Linked DNA regions of Homo sapiens: region 1 is linked to region 2. Evidence: promoter capture Hi-C in 16 types of primary human blood cells and fetal thymus (Javierre and others, 2016). All regions are on one chromosome and are shown on one strand. Each heading gives the region's core, a stretch centred on a gene start or on the middle of the fragment in contact. The rest is flanking DNA. Distances are from core to core; before and after follow the strand shown. Region 1 has its middle 12 kb from the start of S100A7A. Region 2 holds the start of S100A13 (S100 calcium binding protein A13).

Region 1 (6,371 bases), core at 1,655-4,154, 220 kb after region 2:
AGAGGGGCACCTGGCTGTATGAGGTGTCAGTTGGCCCCTGCTGGGAGGTACCTCCCAGTTAGGCTGCTTGGGGGTCAAGGACCCACTTGAGGAGGCAGTCTGTCAGTTCTCAGATCTCAAACTCCGTGCTTGGAGAACCACTACTCTCTTCAAAGCTGTCAAACAGGGACGCTTAAGCCTGCAGAAGTTTCTGCTGCCTTTTGTTCAGCTATGCCCTGCCCACAGAGGTGGAGTCTACCGAGGCAGGCAGACCTCCTTTAGCTGTGGTGGGCTCCACCCAGTTCGCGCTTCCTGGCTGCTTTGTTTACCTACTCAAGCCTCAGAAATGGCGGGCACCCTGCCCCCAGCCTCACTGCCGCCGTGCAGTTTGATATCACACTGCTGTGCTAGCAGTGAGCGAGGCTCTGTGAGTGTGGGACTGTCCGAGCCAGGCACGGGATATGATCTCCTGGTGTGCTGTTTGCTAAGACCACTGAAAAAGCACAGTATTAGGGTGGGAGTGACCTGATTTTCCAGGTGCCGTCTGTCACGGCTTCCCTTGGCTATGAAAAGTATTCCCTGGCCCCTTGTGCTTCCTGGGTGAGGTGATGCTCACCCTGCTTCAGCTCATGCTCTGTGGGCTGCATCCACTGTATTGCTCCCACTGTCTGACAAGCCCCAGTGAGATGAACCCGGTACCTCAGTTGGAAATGCAGAAATCACCTGTCTTCTGCTTCGCTGGGAGCTGTAGACTGGAGCTGTTCCTATTCGGCCATCTTGGAACCTCTCCAAAAATATCAAACATATTTGAGACATCCAAAAAACTGATCATTTGTTTTTGCTAAAATCAAAATCTTAGCAAATTAGCTTTAATAGGGGCCTTATCTTTTGCACCTGCTCATCAGGTTGAACCCTGTGAGCCTTTCCCCTGTGTCATGTCTGGAACAAACACTCTCCATAAACCCACCCCATCCTATCACACATCCAACCTCCCAGCCACTGCTGATCCCCCAGGAGAGCTCACAACAGGCTGATTGTGAACAGGAATTTGGCTGGTTGATATCTTCATCTCCTCTATCGTTTTGGGGAGCTCGCCTCTCCCCAGCCTGAAGTAGAAGCAACATACTCCTGGGTCTCTAGAAGATCTCAAGTTGCTGGGGGAAGAGGACAGAAAGCAATTTGTTCTTTTTGCTGTATTTTATCCATTCATTTATGCTGTGAGTGCTGACTCTGTTCTGGGTGTGCAGGTGTCAGGGTGGCAGGGAGATGGAGTGGATGTGGACCATGCTTTGAGCAATGCTCTGGCCCCAGGAGAGAACTCCAATATAAGGCACTGGGTGGTGAGAGAGTAGAGTGGGACAGAGCCCGGAAGCCCCCAGGTCCCCAGGCAGTTCAGTGGTCACTTTCTCTGTGAAGCCTTCTCCAGGCAGAGCCATCATCCCCATGTCCCTGCATGTCTCAGTGACAGCCCTGGCCACACATATGCTATGTTTGCTGCCGCCCAGCCATGTCTTATATTGTGCCCCCAGCCTCCAGTGCAGAGAACTCCATAAACATTGGCCAAACTAGCAAGTGAGGCAGGTGTCTTCAAAAAGGTTCAGATAAAGTGTGTGGGAATTTGGAAGAGGAGAAATCACTTTTCAGGTGGGGGAACCAGGGGAAGCTTTGTAGGGGCATCCTTTCAATAGGCCATAGAGCACTTCCAGGAGCCACGGTGAGAGGGACAGGGCAGAGGGAGCCACGGGAATGTTCCAAGACAGCCAGCTGTTCTGTTTGGGGTCCTTCTGGGTGGTGCTGGCCAGCTGCATCTCTGGACTCGTGCAGCAGTTGGGGGAGCGGGACAGAGAGACAGAGAGAGAGTTCTGCAGCATTCACAAGAGGTTATTAGGACTCAGTTCTGCTGTGAGCCATCCACACTGGAGGATGAGAACACCCAGCTGCAGCCCAGAGCCTGTGGTCCCACTGTTAGGTTTTGAAGGGAAGGCAAGGGTTAAAAAAAGACACAGAGAGAGTTGGTGGCTCTATGGAAATGCAGGTTTTATGTCCAGCACAAGACCTGAGGAGGTGGGGGACAAGCTTAATGCCAGAGCCCCCTGCCGCTTACAGGCTGGGGTAATTTATAGGTCTAGGTGGGGGTCTGGGCAGTATGGCTAGCTCGCCGGGAGGATATTGATAAGATGTTCCTGTGATCAGGCGGTTTGGACCTTTTTCCAGCGGGATGTGATAGGCTGTTTCTTGGACCTTTGCCCCGCAGGATATGATGGGGATGTTCCTTCAGTTGCGCCTTTGCCCAGCAGGGTATGATAAGGATGCTCTTGTGCCTTGCGGTCAGGTGGTTAGGCAGGATGTTTCTCACGGCCTGAATCCACATGGAATGTTTCACTCTGACCAGGGTCCGCAAAATGGCAGGGGGCTTACAAAATGGTGCAGTTTGGACTAACACCCACCATCCTGTCGAATGGGTTTGCTGGGAGGATTTACTGTCAATTCTGTTAGCCTGATAAGGGAGGTTGCTTTCTCGGAGGCCGCATACACAGACAGTGCTAGGAAGTGACCCAAGCGTACCCTGAGAAATGTATCTGTTCAACCAAATTTCAAGTTGGCAATGATCATTCCTCATCTCGCCCAATTTTAAGACGAGGCTGGGCCGTGTAGGTAAAACTGGCAAGCTGGAGAAAGCAGTGCGGGGTGGGGGGGACTCCAGGAAGGCTCCTTGGCCAAGGAGGACTGTAGGATTCTGACTTACACTGTAAGGGCTGTTCCTGTTACAGTTGGCCCCAGTCAGAGGCCCAGGACAAAACTCTGGCCCTGAGTGCAGAGAATTGGTTTTCTGTTTCCCAAGCTTCCACACGGTGGCGCCACCGAGCACCCACCTCGCCCTGGTTGTCGCCGGAGGCAGTACCACGTGGCTGGGTCCTTCGTGGTTCCCGCCCTTCTGTAGGTTGTGAGTCCCACGTCGGGCACCAATCTTGCACCTGTTAAAAAAAGAGATCTTCACCAAAAGCTTCTGAAAGGCAGAGGGCTTTTCTTACTTAATTTGTATTCTTTTCTCTCTCCAATGCTTACCAGAGGACACTGCATAAAATAGTATATTGGGGACACAATTGTTAATCAAGTGGTAGAAACAGGAAGAGATAAAAATAATTAAATTTTTAGTAATGGTGGGTTAAGTAAATCTTGATGCCTATACACATGGAATCCCTGTGATGATACGAAATGGACATTTGGTCTTTGTCCCTGTTCCTGACACCGAGCGTCTGAAATCCTTGGAATCTCCTGAATGACAGGGGAGAGGGAGCATCTTTTGTTATTCATAACAATCCCCTTCCAGTCATGCTGAGTGTGTGCTAATGAGGTGACTCTTGGTGGACCCCTAGATAGCTTCAGGATGGGGCTGGTTGCCAGAGGAAGCAACCATGTGATTAGAGGGCTGGAGCTTTCAGCCCCACACTGGGCCTCCACAGAGCGGCTGGGGAAGGACTTCAATCACCAGTGGCCAATTATTTAATCAACTATGCCTAAATGAAGTGACTGCCATAGAAACCCCAAACGATGGGGTTCAGAGAACTGTAGGGCTGCTGAGCAGGTGGGGTGCCGGAAGGGTGGGCTCCTGGAGTGGGCCTGGGAGCTCCATGCTGCCCCTCATACATGGCCCTGTGTGTCTCTTCCACGTGGCTTTTCCTGAGTTGTACTCTTTGTAATAAACCAGTAATCATGAGTAAAGTGCCTCCCTGAGTCCTGTGAACTCTTGTAGCAGATTATCTAACCTGAGGAGGGGGTTTGTAGGAACCTCCAATTTTAGCCAGTCAGTCAGAAGTATGGGCGGTCAGGTGCTGCGATTGGCATCTGCAGTGGGGGCAGTGTTGTGGGGCTGAGCCTTCACCTTGTGGGGTCTGTGCTAACTCTTGGTAGTTAGGATCAGAACGGAATTGCACGATACCCCGATGGTGTTCAGAGTGTTGGAGAATTGGTTGGTGTGGGGATTTTAAAAAAAGGAAATATAACCCCCACACATTTGGCGTCAAAAGTGTTGTTAGTCAGAATGGTTCTGGAATTCCATATAATGTAGCTATTTGGAATCAATCACTCAAAAATATTTAAGAACTGGGGAGATGTTTTAAACATAGTCCTAATTGAAAAAGCAGATCATAAAACAGCTGGGAAAGGGCAGGGCCGTGGCCCACAGGGTGGACGTGGAGTGGGGGTGGGGAGGGGGTTAATGTGACATGATTGCTCCACATGAGACAAGGCCACGGAACTCAGGAAACAAAGCTTGTTTTGAGCAAGAGTCGTGTCAGATTTCGACAGGAGGTAGAGCAGAGAGAAGATATCTTTACATAGGTGAAGCTAACAGTTCATGATAAAGTGTTCTCAGCCTTCACATTCACAGTCAATTGATTTTCAACAAGCCCGCCAAGCCAATTCAATGGAGAAAGAATAGTCTTTCCAACACATGATGCTGGGACAAGTGGACAGCCACATGCAAAATAATGAAGCTGGACCCCTTCCTTCCTTCATACACACAAATTAACTCAGAATAGGTCACAGCCCTACACATAAGAGCTAAAACTAAAACTCTTAGAAGAAAATATAGAAGTAAATCTTCAAGACTGAGGTCTTGAATATCTTTGCATATGCTACTGAGGCTTTATGACTTTACTTTCCACAGTTAGACCTACAATCCACTTGGAATTGTCATTTTGTCTGCTTGTGTGGTCTAGTTTCATGAGCATGAGCATCCAGTTGATCCAGTAAAATGTATTGAAAAGCTTGTGCTCAGCAGTGCCACTTTTGTCACAGAATAAATATACCATACGTGTGTGTCTTTTTCTCAGACCTCTATTTAGTTCTGTTGATCTATGTGACTGTCCTTGAACCAGCCAGGCAGTATCTTAGTTACCGGAGCTGTTATGATAAATCTTAACATCTAGTACTGTAGATCCTCCCATGTCTTTTCTTTTTCATGATTCCCTTGGCTATTCTTGGCCTGTCTATATACTTTTTACAGTTAACTTGTCAATTTCTACAAAAATTCCAGCAAGGACTTTGGGACTGGGATTGCACTGAATCTATAGGTTACGTTTGGGAGAACTATCAGCTTTACAATAGCATGTAAAGCTGCTATGAACATGGCATATCCCTTACTAAAAACTTTTAGTGGCTTCCCATCCTGCTTAAAGTCCAAATTTTGCAAAGTCCTCGTTGGCTTGTCCTCTGCCTGCCCCTCAGACCTCATCTCCTGTCTTTCTGGGCTCCATTTACACCACTCCAGCCCTTCTTTCTGCCCCTCTGTCAGCCCAGGCTGGCTCCTACCTGAGCACCTCTGTTCCAGCTCTTTCCTCTAACCATGGGGCCCTTCTCCTGCTCTCCCTAAGGTTGGATTTCCTGTTATTCGGGGACAAGGTAATGTAGTGGTTGAGAACAGGTATGTGGGGCCCATGGGCCTGGGTTAGAAATGTGCCTCTGCATTACTAGCTGTGTCCCCAGCATGCTCCTGTAATTGTCATTCCTTGGGCTTTTTCAGCAATTGTTAAGAAGATGAGATGAATGGGTGGATGTAAAGCCCATGGAGCAGTGCTCAGCAAAGAGGAAGAACTTAATACTGTTAATCATCTTCTCACTCTCCAGCAGCCTCCTGGTCCTACAGAAGCAGCCTAGGGACTCCCTATGCTCAAATCCTATTCTTTTTCTCTACACGGCAATAATGTACCCTTTCTTTCTCTTTATCACATTTTCTGTGAGGATTCTAATGCATCTAGCAGCTCCCCCTTCAAGCACAGCCCATCTAACACACATTTCAGATACTCTTGAGGCTGTTGACTGGGATATCAGGTTGCTCTAATCCTAAAGATAAAAAAGGTCTGGAAAAAAGAAAATAGATATACACTGGTAAGAACTGGCAAAAATCCCTAAATATTCCATCAGTATAACCCGATTCATCGTCTCAAGTACCATATGAGATTTCTTTAATTTTTAAGGTAATTACTTGATCCTCTTCACCACCACCTCACCGCCCTCTTAGTCAGAAATTGAATATTATCCTGCTTGAAGTATTTCCAATTCTTGAGGTGTCTAAAACCCTGGGTGCGGCCGAAGCGGGGATGGGGGTGCTTCAGGGCCAGTTTCGGGTAACCTCCTTTCTCAATTTCACCAGAAAGCGCTACTCCTTTGCTGTACTGGCTTCTGGATGTCACGGGACATTGTTTTCAGTGTCTGGTCTGCACACTGGAAAGACATGAAGACTGTGTTTGTCAAGATCACAATCTTAGTCCTGGCCATGGGTGGTTGGGTTGTGACATGGGAGATGCATGCTTGGCACCATGTTTATGGTTCTTTTCTAAGTACAGTAACCTGAAGTTTTGGCCAAATGTCTGTCTCCACCTACAGACTAT
Region 2 (6,688 bases), core at 425-2,924:
GGTGGCAGTTCTGAGAGGACTTGGGGGCAGGGGAGATGGGGAAACAAAGAGGTAAGAATGGGGGGAAAGAGGAGTCAAGAGGTCTGGGCCAAAAATGGGAGGAGGAGAAAGGGGAGGTCCTGTGGAGGTCGAGTTGGGAAGGGGCACAGCACCCTACATCTCTGCTTCCCCATATCATGGGAGCTTTGCCCTGCCACCCCCAGACTCCCCCGGGACCTGAGCTCTTGGCAAGGCAGGGTGGGGGTGGCAGAGACTAAGGCTGGCAGGAGAGGTGGGGGCAGAAACAGCTGTTGTATCTGCTCTCTTCTTACCCCACAGGAGGCGAGGCAGGGGAGGGCTGGGACCCTTCCCAACACCTGGGAGACAGAGGGGGCCTTGGCAGGGACTTGAGGGCTCCCTGTGGGAGGGCCAGGCGGTCAGGAAGCTCATGGTGGGTTCCCCACTGGCTTCCTCCTTTGCTGAGCTGCCAGCTCTCTCTCCGACCTTCAGTTCATTTGTCTCTCATCACCACCTTCCAAACCCTGTCTCCCCCAAATCCCAAACTGCCCTCACCCTGACTGACTCCTCCCAGATCCTCAGTGCTCCACAGTGCTATGGTCCCCAGCCTCTTGGAGCCCTTCTGAAGACCCCTCTCCCTGAAGCTGGCAGGCCAGGGACTAGCCCAGTGGGGCAGGGTACTCACGGTTGGCCTGGGCCTGAGGTGGGAGCAGGTTCTGGACAGATGGCCAAGGTTGCAAATGTGGCTGCTGGAGCTGTGTGTGGAGACCTGTCTTCAACAGTCCCTCCCCCGCTGACCCCCCCACCGACTCCACCCCTTCACAGACGAACACCCTGTGGGGCAAGGGGCCAGGAGCAGACAGAGGCGCCCTCTGTCTCCTGGGCTGGAACAGGCGGCCCTTGTCTCTTTCCCAGCCTTGCTTGCCCCGTTCCTTTCTCTCCAGGCAGCAGTGGATGGTGCAGGGGAAAGAGGTGGGAAGGAGGTCCTGGGAGGGACACTGGATGTCTTACCCCAAGCTGGGCCTTGCAGTACCTGTGGCTGGCTGTGCTGGTTGAGCCCGGTAAGGGGGGAATTCTGCTGAGGGGGTCTTAGTCTGTGGCTCCTCCATGGGGCCTCACTGAGAGGACCCTCAGTGAGAAACTTAGTCTTGGGAGTCTGAGAACCCACAGAGGGATTTCAATCCAGGACTCTTCTCTGGGGGTCTCAACCTGGATCCCCCTCTGTGTGTGGGGCCTCAGCCTGGGGTTCTCTGAGGGATCTTGGTCTGTAGCATCCTTTGTGGGATCTCATTCCAAGGGGCCTCTGTGTGTGTCTCAGATTGGGCCTCTCAGTGTTGAGCTCCCTTGATTGGTTGCCTCCCTCTTCCCCCCTCAGCATACACACTCCTGATTAGACATGGGTATGGTGGCAGCAGCCCCCAGTATTGAGAGGACTAGGACCCTGGGACCCCTGCCGAACGAGATCTGTCCAGGCAGCTCCTCTCCCTGACCAAGTGGGGGCGCTCGTGTGGCTGGCAGGGAGCCCGGGTCCAGACCTGAGGGCTCAGGGCAAGCGGCCTGATTGGGCTGTCTCTGGTCTTCAGAATCGACCACGGAAATTTGACACCTCCGGGCTTGGAAGCAGCTCTCTCCTCCTTCCCCGCTGCTTATAAACCTCAGCCCTGAGGCTCCAGCTCACTCTACCCCATCTCCTTGCCGGGTGAGTCTCATGGCTGACCCTGGAGGGAGGCTGGAGATCATTTTTTCTTCCTGGGCTCCCAGGTCCCTCCCCCAGAGCCAGCTCAGACAGGAATTCAGGAAGGAGCTTTGGATGATCGAGCAACAGCGCGTGCAGGAGTGTGTGACGGGGTGGACAGAAAAGAGAATGCCTCTTCCAGCCCCACCCGCCGCACCCCAGGGGGTTGTGAGTGCCTGTACTAAACCCGTCCTGGAGCAGGGAGTCAGAGACGCCCCGTTCCAGGACCCTTGTCACCGGGAGACAGGAGCGGGGAGGATCTGTGGGGTCCTGGGTTCAGCACTCTGCCCTGCTGCCGCTGAGGAGAGGTAAGGGTGGAGCGGGGCAGAGAAAATGGGTCTGTTCAGACGGAGCCAGCTCTGACCACAGGGGACATTTGCCAGACCCTGTGCTTCTCTGCTGGGAGGAGCGGTTAGAGTGTGTGTGGGCGGATGCGAGTGGCCGGAGACCAGGGCCCAACATAAACAAGCTTTGGAGACAAACAACCTTATGACCTGTGAGTCTGGGTGAGACAAGAAGGGATTCTTGAGACAGACACGCCACAGAGGGGCCACCAGACTTGAAGGACTCCAAGAAGGACCTTCAACTGAAGACCTCCTCTCAAGTAGAGGGGTCTCCAGATCGAGGGATCACCACAGAGGGGTCCCTAAGCCACAGACATTTAAAAAGGATCCCGGATTGTGAGACCTACAGAAGAGGGGGTTTCTGGAGCTGAATCTCCTGCCCCCACCAAAACTGAGATGCCGTTGCCTGGTCTGCTGCCCCAAGCTCAACCCCTGTCCTCTCCCTCTTTCCCCATATGCCCCCTCCAGGCTGAGACTGATGTGATAACACCAAGGCAGGGACCTTCTGAACCATTCCTGCATCTTGGGGCTCCCTGACTCTCCCTCTCTGCTCCTTCTCTCTTCCACAGGTCAGCCCTGACAAAGGTCAGCTAGCCCCTTGAGGACATCAGCTTTGGCCTCAGGGTCCTAATGGCAGCAGAACCACTGACAGAGCTAGAGGAGTCCATTGAGACCGTGGTCACCACCTTCTTCACCTTTGCAAGGCAGGAGGGCCGGAAGGATAGCCTCAGCGTCAACGAGTTCAAAGAGCTGGTTACCCAGCAGTTGCCCCATCTGCTCAAGGTAGGCAGAAGTCTGGGACTGAGATTTTGTGAGATGATGATTATGGGACACTGTGTTTAGGACGTGATGGTGCCGAGTACGGTGAGGTGACCACAAGAAAGGGTGTGGGTGGCTGCATGTGTCAATGGTTGCAGGTTTTCTTTTGTTTTTTCGAGACAAAGTCTCACTCTGTTGCCCAGGCCGGAGTGCAGTGGTGTGATCTTGGCTCACTGCAACCTCCATCTCCGGGGTTCAAGTGATTCTCCTGCCTCAGCCTCCTGAGTAGCTGGGATTACAGGTGTGTGCCACCACGCCGAGCCTATTTCTGTATTTTTAGTAGAGACAGGGTTTCACCAGGTTGGCCAGGCTGGTCTCGAACTCCTGACCTCAGGTGATCCACCCGCCTCGGCCTCCCAAAGTGCTGTGGTTACAGGCGCAAGCCACTGCGCCTGACCCGGTTGTGAGTTTTCTTGCCTGGTGTGTACATGTGTGTGTTTGTGTGTCCATGCATATAATTAGGTAAGCAAAGATACTATGTGCCAGTGGGAGTATGGTCTTGTGTCAGAAGATGCTGTTGGGTTCTTGTGTATGCTCTGTGCCTTTCTGGTCTAATTTCCCCAAGACAGGACTGGACCCAGAGCTGGCTTCCAGGAGATTCACAGACTGTCAGAGCTGGAAGGAGGCCAAGAGAAAACACAGTCCGCATTCCTCACTTCACATATATGGAAACTGAGGCCTAGCAGTGGAAAGGGGCTTATCAAAAATGAAAACACAGCCAAATTCATGGAGTCATAGACCTCAGTGTAGGGGGTCTGTGGGTGCATCTGTGAAGACTCCCTACCCGCTATGGGCATCCCCTTACTAGGGTGTAAGAGTCATTCCTTCTCTCGCACTCACAGGCTGGAGTCAGGTCTTAAATTTCATCGACTCTGGCCTCGAAGAGGCCTGGTCATTCTGGCTGTTGACAGTTTGTTTTACATCCTTTCTGAAAATCCACAGGCACGTTGAAGTGTGTGAATATGGACTCCTTGAACACAGTGAGTCTCTGAAACTCATGGTCTTTCATCTGCAAAATCCCCTACAACTTCCAACTTCTCAGACTTTTTTTTGAGACAGGGTTTCTCACTCTGTTGCCCAGGCCACTGTGCGATCACAGCTCATTGCATCCTTGACCTTCCGGGCTCAGGCAATCCTCCTGCCCCAGCCTCACAAGTAGCTGGGACCACAGGCGCATGCCACACTGCCTGGCTAATTTTTTCTTTTTTTGTGACAGAGTCTCACTCTGTCACCGAGGCTGGAGTGCAATGGTGCGATCTTGGCTCACTGCAACCTCTGCCTCCTGGGTTCAAGTGGTTCTCTTACCTCAGCCTCATGAGTAGCTGGGATTACAGGCAACCGCCACCATGCCTGGATAATTTTTGTATTTTTAGTAGAGACGGGGTTTCACTATGTTGGCCAGGCTGGTTTCGAACTCCTGATCTCAGGTGATCCACCTGCCTCGGCCTCTCAAAGTGCTGGAATTACAGGCGTGAGCCACCGCGCCTGGCCTAATTTTTAAGTTACTTGTAGAGATGTGGTCTCTCTGTGTTTCCCAAGCTGGTCTCAAACTCTAGGCCTCAAGTGATCCTCCTGCATTGGCCTTCCAAAGTGTTGGGATTACAGTCATGAGCCACTGTGCCCAGCCAGACGTTTCCTTTTTCATCTTTTTTACTGGAAACTTCAGGTTCTCTCCTGAAGGGACAGCATTCCTTATATCCTTGTCAAGCAGTGATTGTGGTTTTTTTTTTTTTTTTCCTAAATTCAACTTCCTCTGGGCCTGGAAATGGAGGAAGTGACCTCTCTGCTTTCCATTATCTCTAGATTTTAGTTTCTTCTTCTTTCTAAGACTTCCCAGCGCCTTGGAAGATCATCTGCCACCTGCCATTCTTCTTATTGCGCTCCTTACAGCTCTTCAGCTCCTGGCTCACTGTTTTCTTCTCATCACTGCTTCTGTTGTTATTCTCAGTGGCTTCAGCATCCGCACAGACAATTCATCCAACATCTGGGCCTTTCAATTTTCTCAACTCCTCATTTCCAAAAAGATTTGTCTTCTTACATCTCAGCATCCCACTCCTCTGTTCATGCTTTAGACTGTGTCATTAACAAAATAACGCACAACTTCCAAAATCTTGATTTCAAGTTTCCCTTTATCTGCTGACCTCCTCCTGTCATTCCAGTTCTGTTCCCCTCTCTAGCTTCTCCACTTCAGCACTTCCCTGACTCCTCAGGTACCTTCAGTCTCTCGACCCTCTCACTTTTGCATCTTCCATCAACATCCCTCGGGTCCTCATTGCCCTTCCTCCTCACCTCAGGTTCTAAGGCTTCTAATTGTAATCACTGCCTTAACCCCGTTGATTCTGTCTCTCTCTGTTCTCAACCCAGTTAATCCACCATTTCACCTATAGTAACTTGCCAGTTAAATCCACTGTTCTGCACCTGCACTTGGATAGCTGAATCTGGCTGGAGAAAAATGCATAGCTTTGTTGACTTGTCTCACTTTAAATCTATAACCACAGACCCCAAAAGGGACCCTTGGCAATACCTGGCGGTTCTGTGTTTCCCTGGTTGATTCATTTACCAGTTCTTTCAGATAATTATTTCACAATTTGTCTTCTCTCCTCAAAGCTCAGTACATCTTTCCACGTTCTCCCTTTTCCTGAGAAGTTTACTCACTGAGAAGTTCAGGACTTCGAGACCAGCCTGGCCAACATAGTGAAACCCCATCTCTACTAAAAATATATTTAAAAAATTAGCTGGGCATGGTTGTGTGCGCCTGTAATCCCAGCTACTTGGGAGGCTGAAGCAGGAAAATTGCTTGAACCCAGGAGGCAGAGGTTGCAGGGAGCTGAGATTGCACCACTGCACTCCAGCCTGGGCAACAGAGGGAGACTGTCTCAAAGGAAAAAAAAAAAAAAGGAAACGAAAATAGGAGCAATCAGGAAACTTGTATGTGCTCCCTCCCCGAAATCAGCAGTCTTCTGTTATGCAAATGATACGTCACTGCCCCTAAGGCCAACCCTTCACTGGTGCCCTGGATCCCATCCCCTCTCACCCACTGCACTCCAGTCTGGGTGACCGACAGAGCGAGACTCCGTCTCAAAAAAAAAGACTTTCCTCTTGAAATTACTCCTCTCTTTCTTGTGTCCTCAAATTTTCCTTCTCCACTGTATCGTTCTTACCAGCTTACAACTGATACCTCTTTTTTTTTTTTTGAGACAGAGTCTCACTTTGTTGCCCAGGCTAGAGTGCAATGGCGTGATTACAGTTCACTGCAGCCTCTACCTCCTACGCTCAAGTGATCCTTCCACCTCAGCCTTCTGAGTAGCTGGGACTACAGGCATGTGCCACCATGTCTGGCTAATTTTTTAATTTTTTTGTAGAGACAGGGCCTCTGTACGTGTGCGTGCATGTAATTAGGTAAGCAAAGATACTGTGTGCCAGTGGGAGTATGGGCTTGTATCAGATGATGCTGTTGGGTTCTTGTGTATGTTCTGTGCTTTTCTGGTCTAATTTCCCCAAGACAGGACTGGACCCAGAGCTGGCTTCCAGGAGATTCACAGACCATCACAGCTGGAAGGAGGCCAAGAGAAAACACAGTCCCCATTCCTCACTTCACATATATGGAAACTGAGGCCTAATTTTTAAATGTTTTTGTAGAGGCAGGGCCTCATTATATTGCCCATGCTGGTCTTGAACTCCTAGGCTTAAGTGATCCTCCTGCCCTGGCCTCCCAAAGTGTTGGGATTACAGGCATGAGCCACTATGCCCAGCCCAATCCTTTATTGATGGAAATTTTTCTTATGTCCATTTC

The links. Contacts are between HindIII fragments. The CHiCAGO score rates a contact against its expected background, and 5 or more counts as called.
Region 1: a fragment that was not itself captured here is called in contact with the fragment with the promoter of S100A13 in region 2 in 1 of 17 cell types (M1 macrophages); the score reaches 5.5 in M1 macrophages.

Annotation. Positions count from the first base shown.
Region 1 is chr1:153,401,389-153,407,759 of GRCh38, reverse strand. It overlaps a transcript of S100A8 not described here. Among named protein-coding and RNA genes, the nearest start is that of S100A7A, 12 kb to the left of the region's middle. The HindIII fragment of the contact is 162 bases long and covers 2,824-2,985 here.
Region 2 is chr1:153,622,491-153,629,178 of GRCh38, reverse strand. S100A13 (S100 calcium binding protein A13) reads left to right here and starts at 1,674. Exons shown (of 3, transcript NM_001024211.2): 1 at 1,674-1,696; 2 at 2,646-2,859. The coding sequence starts at 2,707. S100A1 (S100 calcium binding protein A1) reads right to left here and starts at 745. Exons shown (of 3, transcript NM_006271.2): 1 at 683-745. RefSeq lists enhancers at 1-600, 1,427-2,252. The HindIII fragment of the contact is 11,281 bases long and covers 1-2,203 here.